Regions from separate parts of the Homo sapiens genome. Here regions 1, 2, 3 and 5 are each linked to region 4. Evidence: promoter capture Hi-C in 16 types of primary human blood cells and fetal thymus (Javierre and others, 2016). All regions are on one chromosome and are shown on one strand. The core of a region is centred on a gene start or on the middle of the fragment in contact, and the rest is flanking DNA. Distances in the headings are between cores, read along the strand shown.

Region 1 (2,700 bases), core at 78-2,577, 540 kb after region 4:
TTTGGTAGCTCCATGGATAGCCTGTTCTTAAGGATGAGGGAAGTTAACGCTGGGAGTGAGTGAATATTTTAGGTTTAGATATAGGCATTTCTTTATCTAGTTGCTTTATTGGGTATCTTACACTGAATAATAATGTATAGGGAATAGTCTCTCTGGGGCATCTTTGCACAGTGGCTCATTCTAAATCCCCATCACTGGTGCATGCATTGAGGGAATAACACACATCTGCTACAGCCTGTGTGTATGTTTCTCAGTGTTTGACACAGCTTCACACAACCTTCATCATCACCTCAGCAAACTCAGGGCTAGACCTTTTGAGACAACAGAGCAACAAGTGTGATTTCTCTGCACACATATGATGTTGAGAGATGAGGACAGGGAGAAGTGCAGAAACAACAGCACACCTTTTGTTTTTTTTTTTTGCAGCTGGACAGATAAGCACACTCAGGGGAGAAAACGTAGGGTCCACTAGGGATGAGAGAGTAGAAACCAGCAACAGAAATGCCAGCTGCCCATGAAGAATCAAAGAAGCAGCAAACAAAAGCTAAACGCTGTCCTGCTGGTGGCAGCTCTGCTAAGCCTGTTTTGATAGACTTGAATTTTTGCACACCTCACAACAAAGCACTCAGCCTTTCAGTTCTTGCTTTGAGTCAATTGTTCTAATAACATCATTAACCCGGGGAACAGCACTAAGTGATTCTGTTTGGGTTGAAGCCAGTAAGAAGCCCAAGGACGAAATGTACCACTTCATGCCGAATCTTTACAAACACCATTCCTGGCACTAAAGGTTTACTTGACTTTTCTCCCCAGTAGCCAAGGGACCTATCTTCTGCCAAGGTTTCAATGGAGATGGCCAATCGGAGTCATCTAAGCCAAAATAAACCTCTTTTTGTCCTCCAAGAGCAGATTTGCTTGTGTGAATGATGCAGTTGTTATCTTGCCAAGTCAACAGCTTTAGAAGTGAATAGACTACTTAGAGGCCGGGGATTATACATGTACAAAAAGGGGAAAGACTCCACAAAGAGGATGTGAGATTTATGAACTTTGAGAAATAGCATTTGGCTGAGCCAGTGACGACAAGATCAAGTAGGGAAGCATGGGCCTCTGCGCCGAACCACTGTGCTAGAGCTTTGTGGACAAGAAATTCCATTTGTCTGGTTATTCACCAGGACTCCAAGTATACTGTTTTGTCTAATAAGAAGCTAAAATGGCCAAGTTCAGCTCAAAGGAAATACCACGGCCACTCAGGCAGCAATACTAGTTTACAGAATCTGGACAAAATTTAACTGCTGTAATGGAAGAGGGCTCAAGAAGGAATGCATGAAGTCTATACCTTAAGTTCTGTTTAAAGTGACACAAAAATAATAGCTTGTCATGTGAGCAACCAAAAAAAAAGCATCATGTGGCCAGATGCGTTGGCTCATGCCTGTAATCCCAGCACTTTGGAAGGCTGAGGCGGGTGGATCACAAGGTCAGGAGTTCGAGACCAGCCTAACCAACATGGTGAAACCTTGTCTCTACTAAAAATACAAAAATTAGCCAGGCGTGGTGGCGCATGCCTGTAATCTCAGCTACTCAGGAGGCTGAGGCAGGAGAATCGCTTGAACCTGGGAGGCAGAGGTTGCAGTGAGCCAAGACTGTGCCACTGCACTCTGCCCTGGGTGACAGAGCGAGACTCTATCTCAAAAACAAAAAGCATCATGTTTTTTAGTCATAAATGGATTACGACAGAAAAAAAAATCACTGTGGTGTACTGTCAGAAGGCCCTCAAAACACTTTCCAGTATTCAGAGTGCAGAGGAAAAAAATCGGGAGGAAATTCTGCTTGTAAGTGCTCATTAGACATTCCCAATAAAGGAAAATCCCTTCTTCAAATCTCACATAAACTGGCCCCACATACACAGAAAGCAACCGGTAAGTTGCTAAAGTAAAGGATGAAAAGGCAGCCACAAATAATAGTCCACGAGTTTCTGAGGACAAGATTATGATATTATAAGGAGCTCTTTTTCACTGAAGTTGCCCAACGCCAACTATCCTATCTTTTACCACAACTTAACTGTTAGACTTTCACCAGAAATGTCTGCCTTATCTTTGTCTCATGATGAAAATAAAGACTGTCCAAGCAACCACAAGAACCATAAATGTGGTTCTCATCGATGGGGACACACGGGGGACAGCGACTTGTCAATCTCAGACTGTGCAGGCATATACCCTTCAAAGCAGTGGTTCCTCTGCATTATAGCACTGTGTGACACAGAGAAAAAAAATAGAAACAGACGATGGTCTGTAGCAAGGTTGCTTCTGGAGGTATTAAATTATGCATCTCTCCTCTCTCTGCTTCTCCTTCTTCCCTCTTTCTTCATTTCCTGCTGTACCCTCTCCATGTGGCTTTAATAACTGCGAGCTTCTGCCTGTATCTGAAATGGCTACAGGTGTTGCCATCACATTACCAATGTGTTGATTTAATAGAGTATTATTGTGGCATTTCACTCCACTGCCTGAACTTTGTGGAAAATGGCAACCTTGAATGGGGTGGAAGACACTCATCTCCCCCTCAAGTGAATTCTTTGCAGATTTATGTCTATCAGTGATTGATTATGACCGACCTCCACATGTTATCCAGTTCCAATAAAATTTTAGTTAAATAGAAGCCTTAAGGAGAGTAATCCCTGCTCTCTCAAACATCACTACAAGGGGATCC
Region 2 (2,700 bases), core at 30-2,529, 580 kb after region 4:
CTGGTGCTACTTTGCATGTTGAGCGTCGACAAGAAAATGACACAAAGCAACTTGCCAGCCATAACTTTACACTTAGTTCCATACATATTTGGAGTTAGCCGATGGCGTTTCAGCAAGCACATATTTTATAGGATGCCTTTAATCATAAGCCACAGCTTTTAATTTTTGTTCCTCTTGCCATGTTATAGATATGGCTGATGACATCTTCCTCCTTGTGGTAGATAAAGAAAAAGCACAAGAAAAATCATTTCCAGGCTGTGGTCTCACAGTGACTTGTGGAGCAAGCCTATAAATAAGGTACTGTGGATAATAAGCATGCTGTTTTCGTATTTTTTAAATCTTCCTTTTAAAATGCATTTTAGAAGGAATAGACCAAGCATGCATGAAATTTATGTAAGTGCTGTTGGCAGAAACATTACATATTTCCCCCTTTCAAATTGAAATTTTGAAACATTAAAACATGGTATTTATGACATAAAGTGAAATGTCTCACTCTATCCAAACATGTATTTCTCAGGCTTTCTATATTTATATAAAAAATAATGTTTCCCTTAACATTTTGCTAGTTTTCTCTCGTCATTAATTATATAAAGAGATCTAATTTAATATTTGCCAATGTTTTATTCACAAATGTGCTTCGTTGAAGAAGTAAATGGTTTAAATATTTTTATGATTTTATTTGGTCCAAACAGGTTTAGACCACCGTTTACCCAAATAGATTTGCTTTTGAAAACTCCAAATGGCAAAAAAGTTATATTTTTAGTATCAACATTTTGGATGTTTAGGGAAAGTTACTATTATATTGATATTGGTATAAATCGCAAATTTTCCAGCAGTCATTTTTAAAACCAGGATTTATTCAGACAGCAAGTAGTAAATTTATTTGAGATGATTATTTATACAAATAAAATATCTCTATTTGTTAAAACCTTAGGTACTGATTCTTATGAAGATGAGAGTCAATAACTCAGAAATAGCCAAATAATATTTGAAGGGAATTGACCTGCCAGTGGGGCCTCACATAATGTTAATCTTGGTTGTATATTAAAATAATGACAGCAATGATAGCTAACATTTCACGAGTAATTACTAACCACAAGGCACTGTAAGTTATGCCTTATATATATTATCTCATTTAATCCTCATAAGCAACTTATGAGGTAGATAATACTATTACCATTTTGAAAGCAGATAAAACTGAGGCTTTACAGATACTACAGATATTGTCCACTGTCATTCCACCAGGAAGTATCAGAAGGAAGTCTCTAACTCTATAACCTGTGGTCTTAGCCACTGTTCTACACAGTCAATGGTGAACAGAGGGGTGGGGTTACAAGACTATGGTACCTGCATGGATCCTAGAGGCTATAAATACATATATTTGCCTGGACAAAACTAACAACACGACAACCTGTAGTTGTTATTGTAACACTTTTCAATTTCAGATCAGGATGTGAGGTCTGACAGGTATCAGTAGCTAAGGGAACAGGCTGGACAGACTCTCTGATACCCTGGCTATCTTACACATTTTTGGGAATAATGATTGTTGTAACTGTAGGTTAAATGTGCTGAATTACAATGAACCAGTCACAACATTACCTTTTCCAAGTCATTCACGAAAGATGTGATGTTAGGTCAGATTGCACATATTTCTTTGGGGCATTCCTAGAATATTGTCCTTATGAAATTCCAATGCTGTATTTAAGAATACATTAAAGAAAAAGAGAGAGCTACCAATAGACTGATGAAGGAGAACCCATTTTGCTGGTGTTATCTGGACGTTGAGCTAAACAGGATGCAGGCAGTTGTATTCTAAAGTCATAACTATAAAACATATAATTTTTGAAATCTAAGCAAAGGCTATATAAATATAATTACTTTCCCTAAACTACTTATTGTCTTATTTCTAACTGTAGTAAGCAATTACCTCTCCAGCTAATATTTACGGAATCCATTTCAATAAGAAACAAGGAAAAAAGTAGAAGATTAATTTTTTTAGCCATACTTAACCTCTCAGTCACATTTTAACATGTCTTCACTGCTCCAAAATGTGGCACATATGCACTTGGAAATAGAAATTGAAGTTTGACTTGGTGGATATGGTCCATATATTAAAAGATACGGTCAGAAAAGGCATTTCTTGAGCTGTATCATTAACTTACTGTGAAGTATAGGGTGTAGACAAATGACTGCTAACGGAGCAGCCTACCTGTGTAACGGAACTTCAGTTTGGTCTGAAAACAATGGTCAGTGTTTGAATGTTGGGGTTTCACACAGGAGAGATGAATACAGTGGCTTTCCAGGGGCCGTTAATATGTGGAGTGGAGAAGCAGTCTAGGAATGGCCTTCTCACCAGGGAAGAGAGAACAGGAGTGTATAACTGTTCATCAACATCAGAACTGAAAGTTTTTGGTAAGGTATTACTTGCTGGTCATCTTCCAGACCCATTTCCATTACCTATTGGCTTTGTGTGGCTGTTTAGATAATGCCACATGAGATGCTCAGAATTTTGGACTGAGAAACCTGCTGATCAGCCAGATATATCCAGCGATCACTGGATTTTCTAAATAATTTCTGTTGTTCACTCTTCATTTCTCTACCTGGCAATCTCAGCAACTACCAACTCAAAGAGGAAGAAGACGTTCATTCCCATAATACCCTTCTTACTTCTCTAGGAAGCTGGTCTTGAATATCCTCAAC
Region 3 (2,736 bases), core at 169-2,668, 560 kb after region 4:
GGAGGTGGGACCCACACTTCCAGCCCTTTGGAGCCCCTGGGGAAACTCTGAGATATTCCAGTCCCCACCTCTGTGTGTTCTGATGTCACAGGTCCACTCCACAGGAGGACTGGAACACAGAGGTCTGACACAACAGCCAAATCTAAGCTGCACAACTCTATACCTCTAACAAGCAGTTTAGAAAATATGCTGATATTATCGTTTTTATAAAGAAAACCATTTCAAAATTCTGCATGTTTCAAGAAGTTGGAGATAATTTCCTTTATTTTGAGGAAGACAATACTGAACTATGGGAAGATGGACAAGGTTAGTTCCAGCACAGAGAGTCAAGCTCTCGACAGACATTGGCCTGGACACACAGAAGGACAGGGTTCAATACTCTCTACCAAGCAAGAAAATCCTTCTGTTTCCAGGCTACTGGGAAAGCTAGTTCAGAAAAGGTGGGCTCCATATACTCTCATTCCTTTCTGCACCCCTAAAATCCTGAGACAAAGACATATTCCTAAACTAGGCAAATGTTCAAGCAGTCATTGTAGATTCTGAAACCAAAGGGAAGTGTGATTTGCCTCTTGTTGTATTTATTTGTTGTGTTGTTTTTGTTTATTGTTACCCTTCCAAGTCATAATAAGTAACATTTGAGAAGCTGCACTAAGGTGTCAAATGTCGCTCTTGATTACAGGTCAAGTACAATTTCGACAAATATTATTTTAATTGAGTGATTTCTTAACAACGCAGTGTCCTCATTCTGGTAGATGGGCCAAAGAGGCTTAGCTTTATTGCTTTGTTAAAAGTCAGTCACTCTGTGATGAAAGATGCTATTTTGCACGGGCTACTCTATAGATCTACATGAGAGACCTCCTTGAGCTGTGGCTACTTTTCTGCAGGGTTAGGTAGGGATGTGCTCTCCATGGTTCCTGCCAGCAGGAATCCCTCCCTTCCCCTTCCTGGTGCTCCTCCTCCACAAGTACACAGTCCACAGACCTTGAACTTAGGTAGTGAGAGTAAGAAAGGAAGGGAAAAGAAAAAAAGAGGTAAAAATAAACATCTATAAGTTCCATATACACTGCTGTGAGCGAATGTGTGTGCTTTAGCAGGAGAAAAATATTTTAGTATTGAACAAGCCAACTCAACCCGGACTTTTCCTGCAGAATCCTCAAATAATTAAGCATCCAATAGAAAAAATTAAGCCAGTATGTGACATCATCTGGCCTAGTTTCAAGAACAACTCTACATTAAACATTCTTCACTCTTTCACCTGATGGGCAGGTTGAAGTTTGGCATTGCCTTATACCCCATCCCTTGCTGAACACTGGAAAGGAAGTCACCCCTATGATTAGTGAACGTGTGTCTACTTGTCTGGTCTTCTTCTCGTTCAACAACAACATAAACTACAAAAGCCTGGATTTTTTCTAGTGCTAGGAATTTGGATCATTTAAAACATCTGATCAAATTCAGGTAAAATAAAACTAGTGCAGAAATTACCTATGAAAGAAAAATTGAATAAGAATAAAAGATCAGTGTGTTGGTTGCTTTCCCATCAAACTTGTACAAGGATAACATAGGCTCAGATATGTAAACATCTAAAAATTAAGAAACATGTGACATGAAATGTACACAAAATTTAAAACATGAAACTATAGCAAACTGGCTATGTACTGTTGTGTATTTGCTTAGAAACAGAATATTTCAAGAATTGAATTTAACAATGCATGAACTTATTTACAATTAAAAACAACTTTATAAGGCATATTTCTCAATTTTAATACCCAATCCAACAGCCCAATAAAAGTGGAGAAGCCCTTAACACTTCTTGTATCTTTAAAAGACTAACATTTTCTTTAAGACTTACAACTAAATCTTTAAATAAGAATTAGCTATTTTAACATTAGAAGATAACAATTTTTTAAAGGACTGCATTGTTTTTGCTCAGAGAGTTGCATAGAAAAGGACCTTATCCTCCCCTCTTTTTCTGCTACATACACACACACACACACACACACACACACACATATATACACATCCCCCTCACAAATCAAGTCTTTTCATTTAAAACAAATATTTTGGATGAGGTAATCCTAAGAGTGTCTGAAAGACAACTGTCTCTTTTTTGGTGGGGGAAAGAGTGGAATTGGAGAGAAATCATAAAAAACACTGATGTAGATAATTAGTTGAAGAAATAATATTCATGTTTTTAATAAAATTTTTAAAATTCATCTAAAGCGGTTACTTTATTCATTTGTTTTTACATTAATTCATCTAACAACTATTAATTAAAACCACTAGGAAGTGGAAATTAAAATACTTAAGCAAGTCTTTTTGGTTGCAATTAACAAAACCCCTCTGAGCTGGCAGAATGCAGCACCAAGGGCTGTGGTACAGATCTGAGGCACCTAAGGGAAGGCAGAGGGGCAGCAGGGCCTCCCAGGGAACCATGCCACAGGCTCGCTGTGACCCAAGGTGACAAACCTCTCATCTCTGTGTCTCTCTTCTGCTTTGTTCTTTTCTCTCCTTGCAAACAAACATGTTCTGATTTTGGGTGTGCATGAGTCAAAACAACCCAAACTCTCCTCAGCCCTGCCTGCAGGACACCAGTTAAGCGGCTTACAGACACTCGTTAGAGTTTGAAATCCAAATCCACATTCCAGGAAGAGAGCATCCTGTTGGCCTTGCCCTGCTCTCATGACATCTCAGGTTCATCAGTTATACCTAGAATGTTTCTCAGGAAGGGGTTTGGGC
Region 4 (2,700 bases), core at 36-2,535:
GTTACTTCTGGGAGCTGTGGCAGAGCCAAGCACTGAAACGTGAGGGACCTGGGTCAGCCTCCAATTCCCAGCACCTCACAGGGAGAGGACAGGACATGAAGCAGCAAAGGCAGGAGGCAAACAGTACTGATCACACATCTCTGCCAAGTGCAGAGCTATTCCTGTGGGCTCCGTTTGTCTGCAAACACTGATAAGAAGTTAAACTGAAACTAGACCACTTAAAACGTTTTAAAAATCTCACATTTGTTATTTTTGGTAGGTGGCTATGCTTGGGAAAGAAATTGCGAACAGGAATTTTCAGAAAACATAAACATCAAACATCCATCTCCCCTTCACAGGTAGGAGTTAGCCATTGTAGGTATCTGCACACACCCCCGCAATGTTCCTAGTGTGGCAAAGGGCTCTGGGCTTTGGTGGCAGAGGACCTGGCTGGGGAAACTCCCTTGCCTCTGACTTTTCTTGGGTGAATCCCTTAACCTGCATTTCACTTGCCGCGTCCTAGGAAGGAGACGTTACCTGCTTCACAGGTGTGCCCGAGAGTGACGGGAGATGGCACAGGTGAAGGTTTGTGGCACAGGTAAACAGTAAGTGCAGGTGTCCTCGCTGCTTTGCAGGCGGCGTGGAGTCATGTCCTGTGGCTCCCATTAGCCCCGGCATCCCTACCCCATCCCCATTTGTAAACTGTCTCCGAGGACTGACTTTCCTGTGCACAGCTGTGCTCTGTTCAGAGAAAACAGATTTGTGTGAACACCTTCTGCCTCTGATCTAACACCTTTGGAAAGAGGGTCTCTCTATACCAACGTGGGAATGTGATTGTGCCTCCCTGAGAAACTTCCCCTGGTCCCTTTGGGGCTGATTTCTGCTGATTGGGTGGGGGGCGTTCAGCATCGCTCCCTTGGGCTTCCACCCAGGGGCGCTAGCAGCTCTCATCTCTCACACCTGTCTAGTGCATGGCACCTCCTGCTTAAATTAGGGCAGATACATTTACCCTTCATAAGTCAGTCCCAGCCACAAGCTTACCCGAGAGTGGACTTCCCTCCGCAGCGAAACGCTCAGGGAGGCCGGCGCAGCTTCAGGGCCAGGAGGGCGGCCCCGTGCACGTCCCCATGAACTTGTGGCTGCTCCGGGGTCTCGGCTCCTGCTTCTCCGGTATTGTTCCTAAGTGGGCTGTGATATTCCCTCTCTATGGAAACGGTCCCCTCCCCTGTGTGTATATAAAAGTGACAGATCACAGGGTGGATCGTAATTCCAGACGTGGTGTCTACGCTGGGATGAGATTTCATTTAAAATACAACCAGAACCAGCCGTCCACGTCATGCAGACGACAGGTGCTCCAACCTCGACCCCTCCCACCTCTGCTTCCCACCCCGCCCTTCTACCCCCCAACTCCTTTTGCATCCTAGCAACTTGCTTCATTGATAAAAGCAAAGAACAAAAAAGAAAAAGAAGAAATAAAAACTCAAAACAAAACAAAACAAAAATCCTGGTAAAGTGAGAAGCAGTGTCTTTGAAGAATTTTATTGCTGATCTTAGTTCTAACTAATTTCAGTTTCCCCCACATTCCCCTTGCCCTAACTCTCCTTCTGTAAATGTAGAGCCTGGACCTGCTTTGAAAGCAGAGAAGGGGTTTAAAATCCACCTGTTGCCGTGTTGTTTTGTGGGTTCTGACCGTGCAGCGTCATCTGGCCGCACACGTAGCCCCTTGTGCTTGTCACACACTCGGTGCCTACTCCCCACATAAAGTCTAATTATGCAAGTTTCTCCTTTCACATTCCTTGGGCTCTTCTGCCGTACCCTCAGTGAAACAACACGAAAGTTTAAGATTTCTCTGCAGCCTGCCGCGAAAATGACTGAGCACCATCTATTTGTTAATACGTTTGAGGGGAAAGCTCTACACCTGCATTTTTCTCTGGATACCTGAAACTCAACCATTCCTTTGGGCTATGACAGCAGGTCATCATACACCAGAGGTCTGGAGGTTTTAGTGGGAAATGGCTTGGATTTTACTCGTTTATGCATCCTATATTTATTGAGGACTTACTGTGTACCAGGTATTGCCAAGACACCCACGAGTTCAGAGATAAGTAAGTTGTGGCCCCTAACCATACAGGGCCTCATGGTTTAGAAAGGTAGGGAAGGCTGGGTGCGGTGGCTTATGCCAGTAATCCCAGCACTGTGGGAGGCCGAGGCGGGCAGATCACGAGGTCAGGAGTTCAAGACTAGCCTGGCCAACATGGTGAAACCCCGGCTCTACTAAGAATACAAAAAAAATTAGCCGGGCATGGTGGCGAGTGCCTGTAATTCCAACTACTCAGGAGGCCAAGGCAAGAGAATCACTTGAACCTGGGAGGTGGGGGTTGCAGTGAGCTGAGATGGCGCCATTGCACTCCAGCCTGGGCAACAGAGTGAGACTCCATCTCAAAAGAAAGAAAGAAAGAAAGGTAGGTAAAAAATGCTACAGAAGAGAGCAGTCCTGTCTACTCAAGACAGGAGAGGAGAGCAGGAGGGGTTTCAGACAGAAAGGATGGATCAGCATGGACTGAGCCAGGGCTGAGAGGAACGGGAGAGAAGGAGGACGATGGGAGGGAGGTGTTGGTGGGTGCAGAGGCTGCTCTGCACTAAGGTGCTCCAAAGGCCTGCGGAGTTGGGAGTTTATTCCATATGTAATGGGGAGATGTGGGAGACTACGGTCTGTTGACC
Region 5 (2,720 bases), core at 41-2,540, 520 kb after region 4:
ACTCACCGCAAAGGTCCTCACCTTCACTCCTAAGCCAGTGAGACCATGAACCCACCAGAAGGAAGAAACTCCGAACACATCCGAACATCAGAAGGAACAAACTCCGGACACACCACCTTTAAGAACTGTAACACTCACCGCAAGGGTCCGCGGCTTCATTCCTGAAGTCAGTGAGACCAAGAACCCACCAATTCCGGACACACCATGTGGAGCAGATGCCGGTCAGTCAGCAGTGCTCAATTCTAACCACTACAAGAGACCTGCAGTCTCGTTCCAAGAGGCCCGTCAGCAGCCATTGGAGAGAACTGAGTTTACAGTTTAGCCAAATCCATACCTTTCAGGCTTAAGGTTGGCTGGTCACCCAGAGCTGCTCTGGGCCATTCAAAGAGCAGGACGCCTGAGAAAGGAGAGGAGAAGGGCATGCGGGCAGCAGGTGAGCTGGACAAGGGCCCGGCAGGGAGAGTGCTGTAGACACCATGAGGAACCTGCCCATCCCCTGGTCCTCCCATCGTGGGTGGCCTGCCTCTCCTGCCAATGGCAGGGCTATGCCCACCTGCAGCCAGCTTGGCATGCACAGCAAGCCTGAGGGCACAGGCACTGTTACAGATGGGTCAATAAACCCCAATGGCGATGCTTGCTTGGCACAACCAAACCGAGCCCTCAGGATGCAGCAGTGCCTTGTGGAGCTCATGGGCAGCTCAGACACCAAGAGGGAGCATACTCCTGGGCACATGCTGTCTATGAAAATGCAGCTGTGCAGCTGGCCCCAGGATCACACACACCTATGCTGACATGATCAATGGGTGTGGGCTGCCACCAATGCCTGTCGTTGCCTGTGAGATCATCACAGGTGACATCCGTGACTGAGGGTGACTGGCAGCTAAGAGCATCAGGTACTTCCATACGCCAGGCACTATGCTATCCCTTCACTGTATCATTACATTTCACCCTCAGTGATCCTATCAGAAGGGTGCTCTACTGAAGAAACAAAGGCTGAGAGAGGTCATGCAGCAGTTAAATCGTGAGTGAGACTGTGGGAATCCCAAGTCCATGGCCCTGACTGGGTTACAGACTATGTCGTCAGGGTTGAAGCCACACAGAGTTCCTTCACATAGCTCCAAAAATAGATTTCACACACTTCACACACTTCTGTGGTTCTTGGCTTAGGTGAAAAGATTGCCCTGAAAAGGACCGCTGCCTCTCTGTGTTCTGCACACGCTCCACCTGTTCCAGTCTTCACTCCTGCCTCTCAGAAGTCACTAGACAGGAGTCAGGACCAGAATCTTCCCACACAACTCAAAGCAGTGCCCTCAGGCCACGTGGGCATGCCTCCATGCGACAGAGGTGGTGACCTGTCCACCAACTGCCTCCCCTTTCTCCTGAGTGCACGCTTAGGAGACATCCAGCCTCCCCTGTGGGCGAGCGCAGCCATGTGACTGGTGCACATGCTCCAGCCTGGCCCACACAAATCATCCCAACAAGATGCTCTTCCCTCCTTCCTAATCTTGGGCTGGATGGAGAAGACACCAACACCCTAGGGGAGAAAGGGCCCTAAGATGGAAGGAGCCTGGGTCCTTTGATCGCTGAGGGAAGGTCAACCACCAACACCCACAGTGCAGAGGGAGAAGCCCCTGTTGCATCAAGCTCCGCAACCCTGAGGCTGTATGCTACAGCAGTCATCCCTTCCCATCTAACACATGATCTGAAACCCGCCAAATAAAAGAAGGAATACACCTACCTGGATATTCTCTTTAATGTGACTTGGGGTGATAGATCCGGGGATCACTATCACATTCCTCTGGATTTGAAATCGGATCAAAATCTGCAAGGAAACAAAAAGTCTACTATCACACAAAGGGAAATCCCATGTAGTCTAAGTTATTTTCTAACATGTGAGTTTTATCATGCAGTAAGAGTCCAAGAATCAATGACAGCAGCTATTGTTACTGGCATTCACTGAGCAGCTCTGTCAATATGTTGGTAATGACAGCCATCAGCCCAAGGAGGAGATCAGAGAATCTGCTTAATGAGAATTCCTTAACATGCGCCCAGCCCCCCACTGGACATTAGAACAAAGAAGACTAGAATAAATAACTTTTCTGTACCATCTCATACTAACCATGCATGCAGTTGGTGGGGCAGAGGGAGAAGGCCTGGAAACTCCTCCTCTGAGTCTAGACAGGCTCGGAGGCAAGAGTACATGGCTTGAGTGACTAGAAATGCGGCTGCAGACCAAATTCTGCTTGACGCTGGGAGGTTCTAATGAGTCATGGACTCACCTGGGTGAGCCAGTCCCTTCCTGGGACCTGCCAAGCCCCAGGACTCCCCAAGGATGTAGAGCGGTCAGAGAACCCCACCTGGCTCAGAACAGCCCTCCCTCCCTACCTGAGCAGGAGACTTGCCGTGCTCCTTTGCAATCCTCTTGATCACAGGGTTGTCTATCAGGTCAACCCCCTCACTAGAGAGACACAGTACAGGGGAGTGAGCCAGGAGATCCAACATGGATGCCCCTTTCTTTAGAAAGAAGAAATCTTTGTCCAAAATGAAAGATTTATTTTCTGATCATGACACATGCCGACTACAGGAAATTTTAAAATGCAGAAAAGCACATCGCCCCACATTTCCAGTATGGAGATAACCACTGCTAACACTTTGGTGAACAAGGCTACACGACATCACTTTTCATGTGTATTTGGTGTTTCTCCTCAAAAACCAGGTGG

The links. Contacts are between HindIII fragments. The CHiCAGO score rates a contact against its expected background, and 5 or more counts as called.
Region 1: a contact is called between a fragment that was not itself captured here and the fragment with the promoter of UCN3 in region 4, in 5 of 17 cell types (neutrophils, non-activated CD4 T cells, naive CD8 T cells and 2 more). The highest score is 6.3, in neutrophils.
Region 2: a contact is called between a fragment that was not itself captured here and the fragment with the promoter of UCN3 in region 4, in 1 of 17 cell types (erythroblasts). The highest score is 6.6, in erythroblasts.
Region 3: a contact is called between a fragment that was not itself captured here and the fragment with the promoter of UCN3 in region 4, in 6 of 17 cell types (erythroblasts, total CD4 T cells, neutrophils and 3 more). The highest score is 10.8, in erythroblasts.
Region 5: a contact is called between a fragment that was not itself captured here and the fragment with the promoter of UCN3 in region 4, in 4 of 17 cell types (total CD4 T cells, activated CD4 T cells, M1 macrophages and 1 more). The highest score is 7.3, in total CD4 T cells.

What each region holds. Positions count from the first base shown.
Region 1 is chr10:4,819,312-4,822,011 of GRCh38, reverse strand. No RefSeq gene overlaps it. Among named protein-coding and RNA genes, the nearest start is that of AKR1E2, 5.5 kb to the left of the region's middle. The HindIII fragment of the contact is 5,131 bases long and covers 1-2,700 here.
Region 2 is chr10:4,782,379-4,785,078 of GRCh38, reverse strand. No RefSeq gene overlaps it. Among named protein-coding and RNA genes, the nearest start is that of AKR1E2, 42 kb to the left of the region's middle. The HindIII fragment of the contact is 3,177 bases long and covers 1-2,700 here.
Region 3 is chr10:4,801,473-4,804,208 of GRCh38, reverse strand. No RefSeq gene overlaps it. Among named protein-coding and RNA genes, the nearest start is that of AKR1E2, 23 kb to the left of the region's middle. The HindIII fragment of the contact is 3,618 bases long and covers 1-2,736 here.
Region 4 is chr10:5,363,551-5,366,250 of GRCh38, reverse strand. UCN3 (urocortin 3) reads right to left here and starts at 1,285. Exons shown (of 2, transcript NM_053049.4): 1 at 1,021-1,285. The HindIII fragment of the contact is 8,098 bases long and covers 1,018-2,700 here.
Region 5 is chr10:4,841,523-4,844,242 of GRCh38, reverse strand. AKR1E2 (aldo-keto reductase family 1 member E2) reads right to left here. Exons shown (of 10, transcript NM_001040177.3): 7 at 2,386-2,458; 8 at 1,739-1,822. Among named protein-coding and RNA genes, the nearest start is that of AKR1E2, 17 kb to the right of the region's middle. The HindIII fragment of the contact is 2,933 bases long and covers 1-2,720 here.